3 separate regions of the Homo sapiens genome follow, and regions 2 and 3 are each linked to region 1. The links are contacts of gene promoters, found by promoter capture Hi-C in blood cells and fetal thymus (Javierre and others, 2016). All regions are on one chromosome and are shown on one strand. The core of a region is centred on a gene start or on the middle of the fragment in contact, and the rest is flanking DNA. Distances in the headings are between cores, read along the strand shown. Region 1 holds the start of PEMT (phosphatidylethanolamine N-methyltransferase). Region 2 has its middle 68 kb from the start of NT5M. Region 3 has its middle 48 kb from the start of NT5M.

The links. Contacts are between HindIII fragments. The CHiCAGO score rates a contact against its expected background, and 5 or more counts as called.
Region 2: a fragment that was not itself captured here is called in contact with the fragment with the promoter of PEMT in region 1 in 2 of 17 cell types (erythroblasts and M0 macrophages); the score reaches 5.9 in erythroblasts.
Region 3: a contact is called between a fragment that was not itself captured here and the fragment with the promoter of PEMT in region 1, in 10 of 17 cell types (M0 macrophages, erythroblasts, endothelial precursors and 7 more). The highest score is 11.4, in M0 macrophages.

The regions. Positions count from the first base shown.
Region 1 is chr17:17,589,814-17,593,815 of GRCh38, reverse strand. It overlaps PEMT (phosphatidylethanolamine N-methyltransferase), which reads left to right and starts at 2,108. Exons shown (of 7, transcript NM_148172.3): 1 at 2,108-2,285. The coding sequence starts at 2,190. RefSeq lists enhancers at 1,967-2,356, 1,922-2,663. The HindIII fragment of the contact is 3,820 bases long and covers 1-3,040 here.
Region 2 is chr17:17,369,318-17,372,975 of GRCh38, reverse strand. No RefSeq gene overlaps it. Among named protein-coding and RNA genes, the nearest start is that of NT5M, 68 kb to the right of the region's middle. The HindIII fragment of the contact is 584 bases long and covers 1,830-2,413 here.
Region 3 is chr17:17,349,515-17,353,135 of GRCh38, reverse strand. No RefSeq gene overlaps it. Among named protein-coding and RNA genes, the nearest start is that of NT5M, 48 kb to the right of the region's middle. RefSeq lists enhancers at 567-861, 1,126-1,705. The HindIII fragment of the contact is 819 bases long and covers 1,892-2,710 here.

The DNA.
Region 1 (4,002 bases), core at 859-3,358:
CCTCCCAAAGTGCTGGGATTCCAGGTGTGAGCCAGGCAGGAGGTTTTTATCTGACTTGTTTCAAGCTGCAAGTCTGTCTCCTGGGTGGGGTGTTTGCTTTTCACAGAGGAAGGGTGGCCCAGGTTGGGTAGGCTGGAGTAGAGGATCGGACTGCATCAGTTCTGGTGTGACCTCTTACGGTTGCCTTACTTTGTTCTCAGATAAAGCAAACGCACAAAAATTTGTTTTCTGGGCTTAACAAAACAGGAGTGACCAGTTAGGTCAGAAGACTGGAACATCAGTGAAGTGGATGTGTGGTAGGCGGAGGGGAAAGACTTGCTAGAAGCCCTCCCGCTGCGGGGGGCTCCTTCAGAAATGGCTCTGCCTCTAGCAGCTCTGCCTGGACACTGAGCAGGGAAAGGGTCCCGACACTCATTAGTAACAGTGGTAAGTCAGAGAACCAGCCCTGAGCCTGTGTCCCCAGCCCTGCCGGGGGCCAATGCCTACTGAGCACTTCCCACAGGCCAGTTCCTGGGTGATGAGTTTTACCAACATGTATTTCCCTTTTACTTTTGAGGAAAATGAAGGTGGGCTCAGTCACAGAGATAGTGCATGCTCCAAAGCCAGTGTCTTTCCTGTCTCCTCGGTTGGCCTGCCCCATCCTAGCGATGTTGTGAAGATTGGGACTACCTCTAAAGCAGCACACAGTGGCTGCTCAGTAAATGCTCAACACTGGTAGGTGCTGTGGGCCAAGGTGGAGAGAAACGGGCCATCTGGAGCAGGAAGCAGCTGACTGCAGAAGTCCTGTCTGGGCCCCCAGCAGTCTGGGTGACTGAGCAAATCTTGGAACCTCTCAGTCTATTTCCCCATATTACATAACACCTGGCTACAAAAGGGCTTTTTTCTTTTTTGAGAGGGAGTCTCGCTCTGTCGCGCAGGCTGGCATGCAATGGCACCATCTCCGCTCACTGCAACCTCCACCTCCTGGGTTCAAGCGATTCTCCTGCCTCAGCCTCCTGAGTAGCTGGGATTACAGGTGCGCGCACCACACCCGGCTATTTTTTGTATTTTTAATAGAGACGGGGTTTCACCGTGTTAGTCACGCTGGTCTCGAACTGCCGACCTCTGGTGATCCGCCCACCTCGGCCTCCCAAAGTGCTGGGATTACAGGCATGAGCCACCACACCCGGCCTACAAAAGGGGTTCTTCTGGGACCCGATCGTCTAAACTCTTCTCCATTTGACCCCCTCCATCACTACTCCACAGCTCACCGGTCTTTTCTCTGTTCCTTAGGTGCCCGTCCTGTCTCCAGGCCTTTGTACATACCATTCGTCTTGCCTTGTTTGCCCTGCCCTCACACTTGGCACATCTGGCACCTCCCCTGCACATTCTAAGACAGCATCCTTCCGTACCATTTGACCCACCCCGTTTTTTCCACCACAGTACTCATCCATATTATAACCCTTTATTCACATTTTGTCTTTTATCTCAGTCAGGAGGAAGCGAGGGCGGGGGACTCTGTGTTGTTCCCTACCGTACCCTCAGCGCACAGTCTGGTTCAGAAAATACTCGAGAGTGAATGAGAGAATGAATGAAGGAAAAAATGAGTGGAGGAGGGGTCTTTGGCCGAGCTAAAGAGCCTGGGCGCCGCGGGGGCGGGAAGCTCTAGGCAGTGCTCGTCGCGCACCGCCCCCAGAGTAAAGCGAATTTCAGAAGAGGGCGTGGGGCCCTGGGCGTGTGGGGCCCTGGGCGTGTGTGACCCGGGCCAAGTCCAAGTCCGCAGGAGGCTGCGCGGGAAGCTGCTTATAGCTACGACCCGCGGCCCCCGGCCTCTAGCCCCACCGCCGCCAGGCAAGGGCAGGGACGCCAGGTCAGTTACAGGCTCGGGTGCGGCAGCCGGCGACCAAAGGCACTGGGCGGGAGGCCGGATCCAAGGGGATACTGCTACGTAGCTGCAGCGGAACCGGCAGGCTCTGCGGCGAAACACACTGGGACTTGTAGTTCTCGGCTCCTCTAGACGCTGTCGCGAGCCCCCAGATAAAGAGGCACTTCGCGGTGACGGGGAACTACATTTCCCAGAAGGCCGGAATATGTTGGGGGTCACCGGGAAAGCGCCCCGACTGGCGGCACTTACCCGGCTCTATAGGTCCGGTTCCGGGGGCGCGTGGCTGCAGCGGGGCCCGCGTGGTGCCTCCTGAGGCGGCCCCCGGATGAAGAGATCTGGGAACCCGGGAGCCGAGGTAACGAACAGCTCGGTGGCAGGGCCTGACTGCTGCGGAGGCCTCGGCAATATTGATTTTAGACAGGTACTGACCGCACCGGACCGCCGCGGAAACTGGGAGAGGGATCTGCAAGGCCCGAGGGGCGTGAAGGCTTGCGGCGCCTCAAACGCTGCGGGGCGGGGCCGCCAGTTCCCAGGCAATGGGGGCGTGGCGTGGCGGGGGTGGGGGAGCCGCGTGCGGGAGCGCCGGCTGGTGTCTGTGTGTGTGCGTGTGCGCGCGCGTGTAAACCTCAGATTGCGTGTGTCAGAGACGGGGGCGTTCCTGAGCTCGTCTGATTGTGTGCCTGTGTGTGGCCCTGAGATTGTGTGAGACTCAGAGGTTGTCCGTGTTAGTCTTTGGGATTGTGTCTCACTGAAATTATGTGATGCTCTGAGAGTGTGCCGGAGAGTGAGTGTGAGTGTGTATGACCGAGGCTGTGTGTGACTGAGCGTGGGCGAGGGTGAAGGAGGCCGATTATATGTTTGGGAGTGTGTTGTGTGGCCCCTGCTCCCGTCCATCCCCCAGGGTCAGGAGGCCAGCTTTTGCCCAGAGGCAAGAGAGTGGTGGGGACCCTGCCTGTCTCCCAGCCGGCCCTGGGCAGGCTGCAGACCACCACCCAGCCGTTTCGGGGCCATAATGGGTGCGACCGGCCCCAGAAGCTGGGGGCCTGGCTTGCCTGCTGAGGCTGCCCTCTGCAGAGTCCTAGGCCAGAGAGTGCCTGTCCTGGCATCTCCCCAGGCTCCCAATTCCAATGGATTCCAATTTCCAACCTCTCTTGCATTCTCCCTTCTATCAAAGCTTCCTCTTAGATGCTCCATTTACCTTTTTCATCACCCACTCTTCATGAAGCCTGTAAGGCACATCTCTGCCCCAAGCAGCTTCTAATCCAGTTCTTTCGCTCCCTTCATTCCTTACTCACATGTGCATTTATTCACTCACTGATCCAGCCAGTATTGATTCAGGGCCGGCTGAGGGCCTCGTGTCACTCAGAAGTTTAAGGGCACTTCTGTCACTGAGCTTTCATTCTAGGGAGGGAGATTGTAGGCCTGGAAAGCCAGAGAGTTCTCTGAAGGAGCTAATACCAGTTAGTGTTTTGAAGAGTAGCTGATGGGAAGGCGGGATTGAAATCCCAAGAGAGCCTGTTGCCGTATCTGCGAGGGAGGGACCTGGGATCTGAGAGCCGAAAGGTCAGTCAGTGGGGCAAGATTCCCCAGAGGAGGGAGGCAGTTGCGAAGCCCTCCAGGAGGCACAGGAGGAGATGGGCCGCTGGCCCTGAGGGAGCGCAGGACCGTTGGCCAGATGGGTGCTCAGCAGAGGACAGGAAGAAGACTATTACTTTAGTAAACTGTCCATTGAATTACAACATGCAGTCAGATGAGTGATGGGTCCTACCCCTACAGCTCCTGCATTTTCACCAGGTGAACCTGTATCTGTTAATCCTCAGATCAAGATGGGGGGTCATGATCACCTCCAGGGGCTGCCCTCAGAAGCCACCGTGTAGAAGGGTGGGTGGGGGAGCCATGTAGAAGGGGGGGCAGAATGCAAGGGGGCAGTGTCCCTTTGCAGACCCATCTAGGGGCCTGCCCCAGGGCCTGCCAGTGGGCAGGGGAGACTAACCGGGTGTGTGAGGGGTGGGCTTCTCTGCTCTTTCTCCTTTCTCCCCAGGGCTGTGCAGCTGGAGAGAGCTGGGGCTGGGGTTCGGGTCAGGGTGACCCTTGTTGACTAACATTCTGCTTTTCTTCTGCTGTCCTTGTTGGTGCAG
Region 2 (3,658 bases), core at 872-3,371, 220 kb after region 1:
CTTGGTTTCATACATTTCAGGGAGAGAGAAGACGTCAGTCAGTATGTGTAAGATGTACATTGGTTCGGTCCTGAAAGCAGGGACAACTCGAGGCCGGGGAGGGACTTCCAGATCATAGGTAGATAAGAGACAAACAGTTGCATTCTTTGGGGTCTCTGATTAGCCTTTCACTGAATACACAATTTACCTGTGAGAGGAGGGTAGAGGAATAGTCACTGATACCTTAGTCTGGCTCAGTGAAACAACAGGGCAAAGGAGGCGATCAGAGGTGCATTTGTCTCCGGTGGGCAGAAGGATGGCTTTGAGCTCTGTCCGTCCCTCATCCAAGGAATTTCCTTGTGGGCAAGTTGTGAGGGAGGTATGTAGCTTTTTTTTCTTCAACTTTTATTTTAAGTTCTGGGGTACATGTGCAGGATGTGCAGGTTTGTTACATAGGTAAACGTGTGCCATGGTGGTTTGCTGCAGAGATCAACCCATCACTCAGGTATTAAGACCAGCATCTATTAGCTATTCATTAGGATAAAGAAAGTGGGCTGGGCCCAGTGGCTCATGCCTGTAATCCCAGCACTTTGGGAGGCCAAGGTGGGCAGATCACAAGGTCAGGAGATTGAGACCATCTTGGCCAACATGGTGAAACCCTGTCTCTACTAAAAATACAAAAATTAGCTGGGCGTGGTGGCGGGCGCCTGTAGTCCCAGCTACTCGGGAGGCTGAGGCAGGAGAATCACTTGAACTGGAGGCGGAGGTTGCAGTGAGCCGAGATCGCGCCTCTACACTCCAGCCTGGGCGACAGAGCGGGACTCCGTCTCAAAAAAAGAAAGAAAGAAAATGTGGCATGTAGGCTTTTTTTTTTTCAATCTTTGTAGCCATCTTATTTAGGAATAGAATGGAGGCAGGTTTGCCTGACACAGTTCCCAGCTTGACTTTTCCCTTTGGCTTAGTGATTTGGGGATCCTGAGATTTATTCTCCTTTCACAAACCTTATTTTATAAATGAAGACATAAAGATGGCCCAGAGAGATTCAGTAACTTGCCCAGGGCTGCAGAGCTCCTAAGTGTTAAAGAAAGTGTCAAAGAATGAGCAGGCAGCCACCATGCCTAACAGCCCCCAGAAACACAGAGGGCTGTGGAGAGATGACTACTCTGAGGGGAGGTTTGGAAATGACTTTTCCCAGAAGCTGAGAGCCAAGGCCAAGTAGGGGTGGAAGGAGGGAGAGAGTGGAGTAAAACTCCAGGTAGAAGCATCAGCTTGTGCAGGAGCCTGAAGGCAGACAGAATGATTGCCACGTGGGGAGCCAGGCGAGTGTGCAAGGCTCCCAAACATTGAATGACCAGAGGTCACTCTTGTCGCCATTTTGGTTTTGGTGGGTTTTGGCCGGCTCCTTTACTGCAACCTGTTTTATCAGCAAGGTATTTATGACCTATATTTCATGCTGACCTCCTATCTTATCCTGTGATGATAAGCTGGTGACTGTCCTCCCCACCAGCTCCCATGTGCACATCTAGATGCAAGGGGCCCTGGGAAGTACGTTTCTGGCCCAGTATGAGGGAGATTCCTCAGACACACAAAGGGTGACTTAGAATGCCTGAACTGTCTGGGAATGCAGCACGGTAGGTTTCAGCCTCATTTTACCCAGCTCCTATTCAAGATGGAGTTGCTTTGGTTCAAACGTCTCTGACACTTCCAGAGCTGTAGAGGTAGGAAGCAGAGTTGTCAGTAAGACTGGGGGATTGGAACTGGGGAGGGAGAGAGGAGACAGGGTGACTGCTGGGCTTCACACTTGGGCAAGGGGAGGGATGTTTCCGATGGAAACAGAGGAGGAGTAAGCTTGGGGAGGAGGCAGGTATCAGTCAAGGTTCCTCCTTGCAACCCATGCCAGGCAGTTTAGGCATGTGAAGGATTAATGAAGGATAGAGTCAGCTCACAGGGTCTTCAAATGGCCCGGAGGGCAGGCCTGCAGCCAGAGGTCCATGCAAATCCCAGCCCAGAAGAGCATACCACCAGCACTGGGGCCAGATGCTGTGGTTGCCACTGGACCCTTGGCGTCTCAGCAGCCACCTGGCCAGGGCGGCTCACATGGTGTCTACAGATCCTCATGCAGGGCCAGTGACTGTCCTGCCTACCAGCTCCCGTGTGCACGTCTAGGTGCAAGGGGCCCTGGGAAGCACATTTCTGGCCCAGCATGAGGGAGATTCCCCAGACATACAAAGGGGTTCAAAAATGCCAGCCAGCCAAAAATCATGACTGGTGTTGACCAGACGAAAGAAGAGGCAAGTTCCACGTTGGCCCCATAGAGATGGAGGGGCCTGCAAGACCTCCAGGTGGAACGATTCAGTATTTCTAGGTGCATATACAGGAGAAGTCTGAGCCATGCCATCTAAGCCATTTTTCCTGGGAGATTTTAAGCAAAGCTTAAAATTACATGATGTTCTAACCCTCACTCAGGCCCTGGTTAAAAAGTATTGTGAGGCTCGGGTTTTGTGGATTTAGGAAATTGTGTATTCAGTTGTGGTCTGATTGATCTATTTTCTTTACTTTAAAAAAAAAAAAAAAGGGGCCAGGCACAGTGGCTCATGCCTGTAATCCCAGCACTTTGGGAGGCCGAGGTGGGTGGATCACTTGAGGTCAGGTATTCAAGGCCAGCCTGGCCAACATGGTGAAACCCCATCTCTACTAAAAATACAAAAATTAGCTGGGTGTGGTGGCACACACACCTGTCATCCCAGCTACTTGGGTGGCTGAGGCACGAAAATTGCTTGAACCCGGGAGGTGGAGGTTGCAGTGAGCCAGCCACTGCACTCCAGCTTGGGCGACAGAGTGACACTCTGTCTCAAAAAAAAAAAAGTTAGTCATGATTCACTGGCGTTTGGGTTTCAGTTGAGCTTCAGAAATTCAAATATTGATTCTTGGAGTCACAGAATTTCTCATGTGGGAAGAATCTTAGAGGGCCCCATTCATAACACAGAATTCACCACACGAAGGCCAGGGACCAGGGTGGAAGGGGGCTGGCACGGCGTGGCCCTCAGAGAGCCTGGACATGCAGACTTGGCTCTGCCTCTGAGTTTGTCTCCTTGTGTGTAAAATGTGGGTGAGAGTCCTCCCTCTGTGAGCTGGTCAGGATCTAATAAAACAATTAAAAGAGAGAGAGAGAGACAGAGAGAGAGACAGGGTATTGCTCTGTTGTCCAGGCTGGAATGCAGTGGCACAATCATAGCTCACTGCAGCCTCTAACCCCTGGGCTCAGGCAATCCTCCCACCTCAAGATCCCAAAAAGCTGGGACTACAGGCACTTACCACCATACCCAGATATTTTTTTTCTAAACTTTTTGTAGAGATGAGGTCTCACTATATTGACAAGGCTGGTCTCAAATTCCTGGGCTCAAGCAATCCTCCTGCCTCAGCCTCCCAAAGTGCTAGGATTACAGGTGTGAGTAGTTCTTTAAATCTCTGGCAGAATTCATCAGTGAAACCATCAATCCAGGACTTCTCTTTGTTGGGAGGTTTCTGATTACTGAGCCAATTTCCTTCCTAGTGAGGGGTCTATTTGGAGTTTCTATTTCTTTGTGATTTAGTTTTGATAGTTTGTGTATTTCTAAGAATTTCTCCATTTCATCTAGGTTATCCAATTTGTTGGCATACAAGTGTTCATAGCGTTTTC
Region 3 (3,621 bases), core at 1,052-3,551, 240 kb after region 1:
AAAACTAAAGAAACCCCATGGTCTTTCTGCCTTCAAGCCCGAGGCCAGCCTGGAGGGCTCCAGTCCGCACCACTTCGGGTGTGTGTGTATGGTGCACACACATGTGCCCCCTTCATCTCTGCTTCGTCATCCTCATCCCGGCTGCCATCCATTGAGCCGCATCTATATGCCGGACACTCAGAGAGAGATGCCCTTAAAATGTCCATTTTGCAATTTAAAAAAACACCCCCACTAAAGCTCAGGCATAGAAGCAGAGCATAGAGGTCTGCAGGGGGGTTGGGAAGGGAGTTGGGGGGACAGCCACCCTTCCTCTGCCCTGGGCTGCGGCTCCTGCCGCCGAGCTTCCCTGCCTGGCTGGGCTGCCCCAGGCCTCCCTCCCTCCCCAGCATTTGGGCCCCTCGTGAATGAGGACACATTTTACAGAGTCATGTGACCCCCCGCCCCGTGACCACCCAGCAGCCCATGTAAGAAGACCACGTGATGGAACCCGAGGGCTGAAAAGTGCCATTAGTGCCACCCCAGGGTGCACGGGACGCAGAGCAGGCCCTGCCGCAGTACTCGCCACACAGCAGCCTCTGTCGCCTGCGGCAAACAGGCCACATCCCCAGCCCATCTGTTCATTGGAGGGTTTAGACCCAAATGCTGGAAGTAAACTTAATCTGGTGAGACTGCTCCCACGCCTGTCCTCCACGGCACTGGCCATAGCCCCTCCAACATGAGTCATCGCCAGCCTGGGGCCGGCTGTTATTGACCCGGATGTCCTGGTGCGAAGCCTGTTCTGCTTATGGTGACTTCAGACCAGGCCACCCACCCCCTGAGCCCGCTGTGAGGCGTCACTGCACTTGTCACAGGCTCTGCTGCCAGGTTTGCCGCCACCACCACCCCTCGCTATTTCTGGGCCCTTTCTACGACATCATCTGCAACCACTGTGGGCCAGAGCTCAGCTGCTCGCTCAGAGCATGGGCATGGTGTGCCAGCTGCTCTGCCCTCCAGGGAGCGTCCACAGGCTGGGAAGCAGAAGCGGACAGTGCAGTGAGAGAGCAGGAAGGACGCGAAAGCCTGGTCAGACTGTGTGACCCCCTGGGGGTGAGCGTGCCCTGGGCCTCCCAGGCCAACGAGCTTTGCGCACGTGCACATGGGTGGGTTTGAGCTGCGTTTCTGACACACGCAAGTGGAAGTCTGGAACCTGGAAGGGGGCCAAGGTGGCGGGGGGCGGGGTGGGCAGTGAGGACCCCACCCAAGCTGGGTAGGGGCTGCAGTGGGGAAGCAGCCAGGGACTTGGGCCAATTGCCCACTGAGGCTAAAGCTGAAGGGACCCAGCACAAGAACGTCTCGTGCTGGGACACGCTGGCCCACATGCCACCTGCTAAGGCTCATTAAGGGGTTGCCCTCCGCCGGGGCGGGCTGCCCAAGTGCAGCAGAGACCGGCTCCCCACAGCACAGGTGCAAATGGACTGATGAGGGATCCCCAGCGACACATGTGCCCTGGGAAGTGTGTGGTCTGAAGTCCTCACATCCCTCGGAGCCTGGAAGGGGGTGAGTGACAGGACAGAGGCTCAGCAACGCTGGCCAAGGAATCTGTCCTTCCTAGGCATGGGACACCCCGCTCAGTGTGGGGGTCCCCATCAGCAGCTTGCGCAGTCCCTGGGCCCTCTGGGGTGGAGACGGGTAGAGGGCCCAGCCAGAAGGGCTCTGCCACATCGTCCTTCACAAAAACGTCTGAGGAAAAGGCCACGTGGACAAAAGGAGGGCCTCCTGAGAAACACTGAGCAAGGCTGACCCAGGTCGAACGCCGCATGGCCTCGGGAACGTAACTGCACCTCCCGAGCCTGCCTCCTCCCCCCCACAGGTGGGAATGGCACTGCCGTGGACTGGAGAAGGATCAGAAGCTTTCCTCACATGCATGGCCTCATCTGGCCTGACGACCCCACGGGGTGAGGACTCACAGCCTACATGTGTCAAGAAGAGCTGGCCTAGGGTGGGGAACCTGGGCCAGTGAGCCCTGGACAGGCCCAGGCTGCTCTCCCCCTGGGCTCAGGCACTCGAGGAGTCCATGCAGGAGATACCAGGGGTCCCTCAGAAGGTGACCTGTGGTCAGCCCACCCCTGGTCAGAACCCCAGGCTCGGGGAACCACAAACCCCAGAGAGGTCTGAGGGCCAGGAGCAGTGTTCCCATCCTCAGCAGGGTCCCCAGGGTGGGGGCGAGGCCAGGCAGCAGTGGCCCCTCACCGAGGACAGATGGACACCCTGCACAGACAGGGATGAAGGGCCAAGGGGGAGCAGCATGGGGACAATGACAAGGCCCCTCTGCTAGAGGCCCCCCTGCTGGAGGCCCCGCTGCTGAAGAGCAGGTAGGGGAGTCAGATTCCTCCACCCTCTGGCAGGACAGAGAAACAGGGGCACATTCCCCACATACCTGAGCGTGCGGCCACGATTCCTACATGCTCCACAAACCTGCTTTCCCAGCGCCCTCTCCACCTGGGGGATGTCACCCCTTCCAGGGGCTCTGGTCCTAGAGCTCTGAATCTTTCCAATATTTTCAAATGAATCACAACTTTCACCGAGAGCTGAGTCACTGAGAGGCCAGCCTGGTGGATAAGGGAGGGATAGAGCTGATGTGCCATGGGGCAGAACCAGGCCTAGCTCTCCTAACGGGGGTGGATCTTCTTTTCTGGGGTTCAAAAACTGGTTCTGAGGCAAAACACAAGCTTCCCAAGCTTTCAAGAAAGTGACCTTCATTTCAATCAGAATTTTTTTGTTGTTGAGATGGAATTTTCTCTGCCACCCAAGCTAGAGTGCAGTGGCGCGATCTTGGCTCACTGCAACCTCTGCCTCCCGGGTTCAAGCGATTCTCCTGCCTCAGCCTCTCGAGTAGCTGGGATTACAGGCGCCCGCCACCACGCCCAGCTAATTTTTGTATTTTTAGTAGAGACAGGGTTTCACCATGTTGGCCAGGCTGCTCTCGAACTCCTGGCCTCAACTGATTCATCTGCCTCAGCCTCCTAAAGTTTTGGGATTACAGGCGTGAGCCACTGCGCCTGGCCTCAATCAGGAGACTGTTGACACGATCATGAATTTGGGGTCTCAGCCAAGGTCAGTGCAATGGGGACGGCAGCAGCCGGCTGAGCATCCAGGTGCAGACGGCACCTCACTCATCAACGCCTGCTTCCCATTTCCACCTCAGCAAGCTCCCCCCAGCCCTGGGTCTCTGCAGGGCGTCTCAGCCAGGGGCTGGCCCCTTCTTCCACATAGGAGACCGTGCTGGGACCTGAGGCCCCCGGGGCCTCCTCCTGCTGCTCCACAGTGCCTCGGCAGCCCCAGGCACCCCTCGAAGTGCTTGTTAACGTCACAGCAAGTTGCTTTGAGACCGTCGGGTGGGGTCATGTTCTGAAACATTTTTGCCCCTGCAATTATTTTTTTTTCTTTAAATAAATTATGTGGCTGAAGCAGCTGCCCACCTCGGGGTGAGTGATGATAACAGCAGAGAACAAATGTGGCAATTTGGAGCATGGAGTTCCTAAACTGACCTTTAAAACTGATGGCAATTATCAGTCTAAAAGGTTTCGCAACAGTCCGTCTCCTGAAGGATTCAGAGCATGTTACTCTTGCGGATGCTTGGTT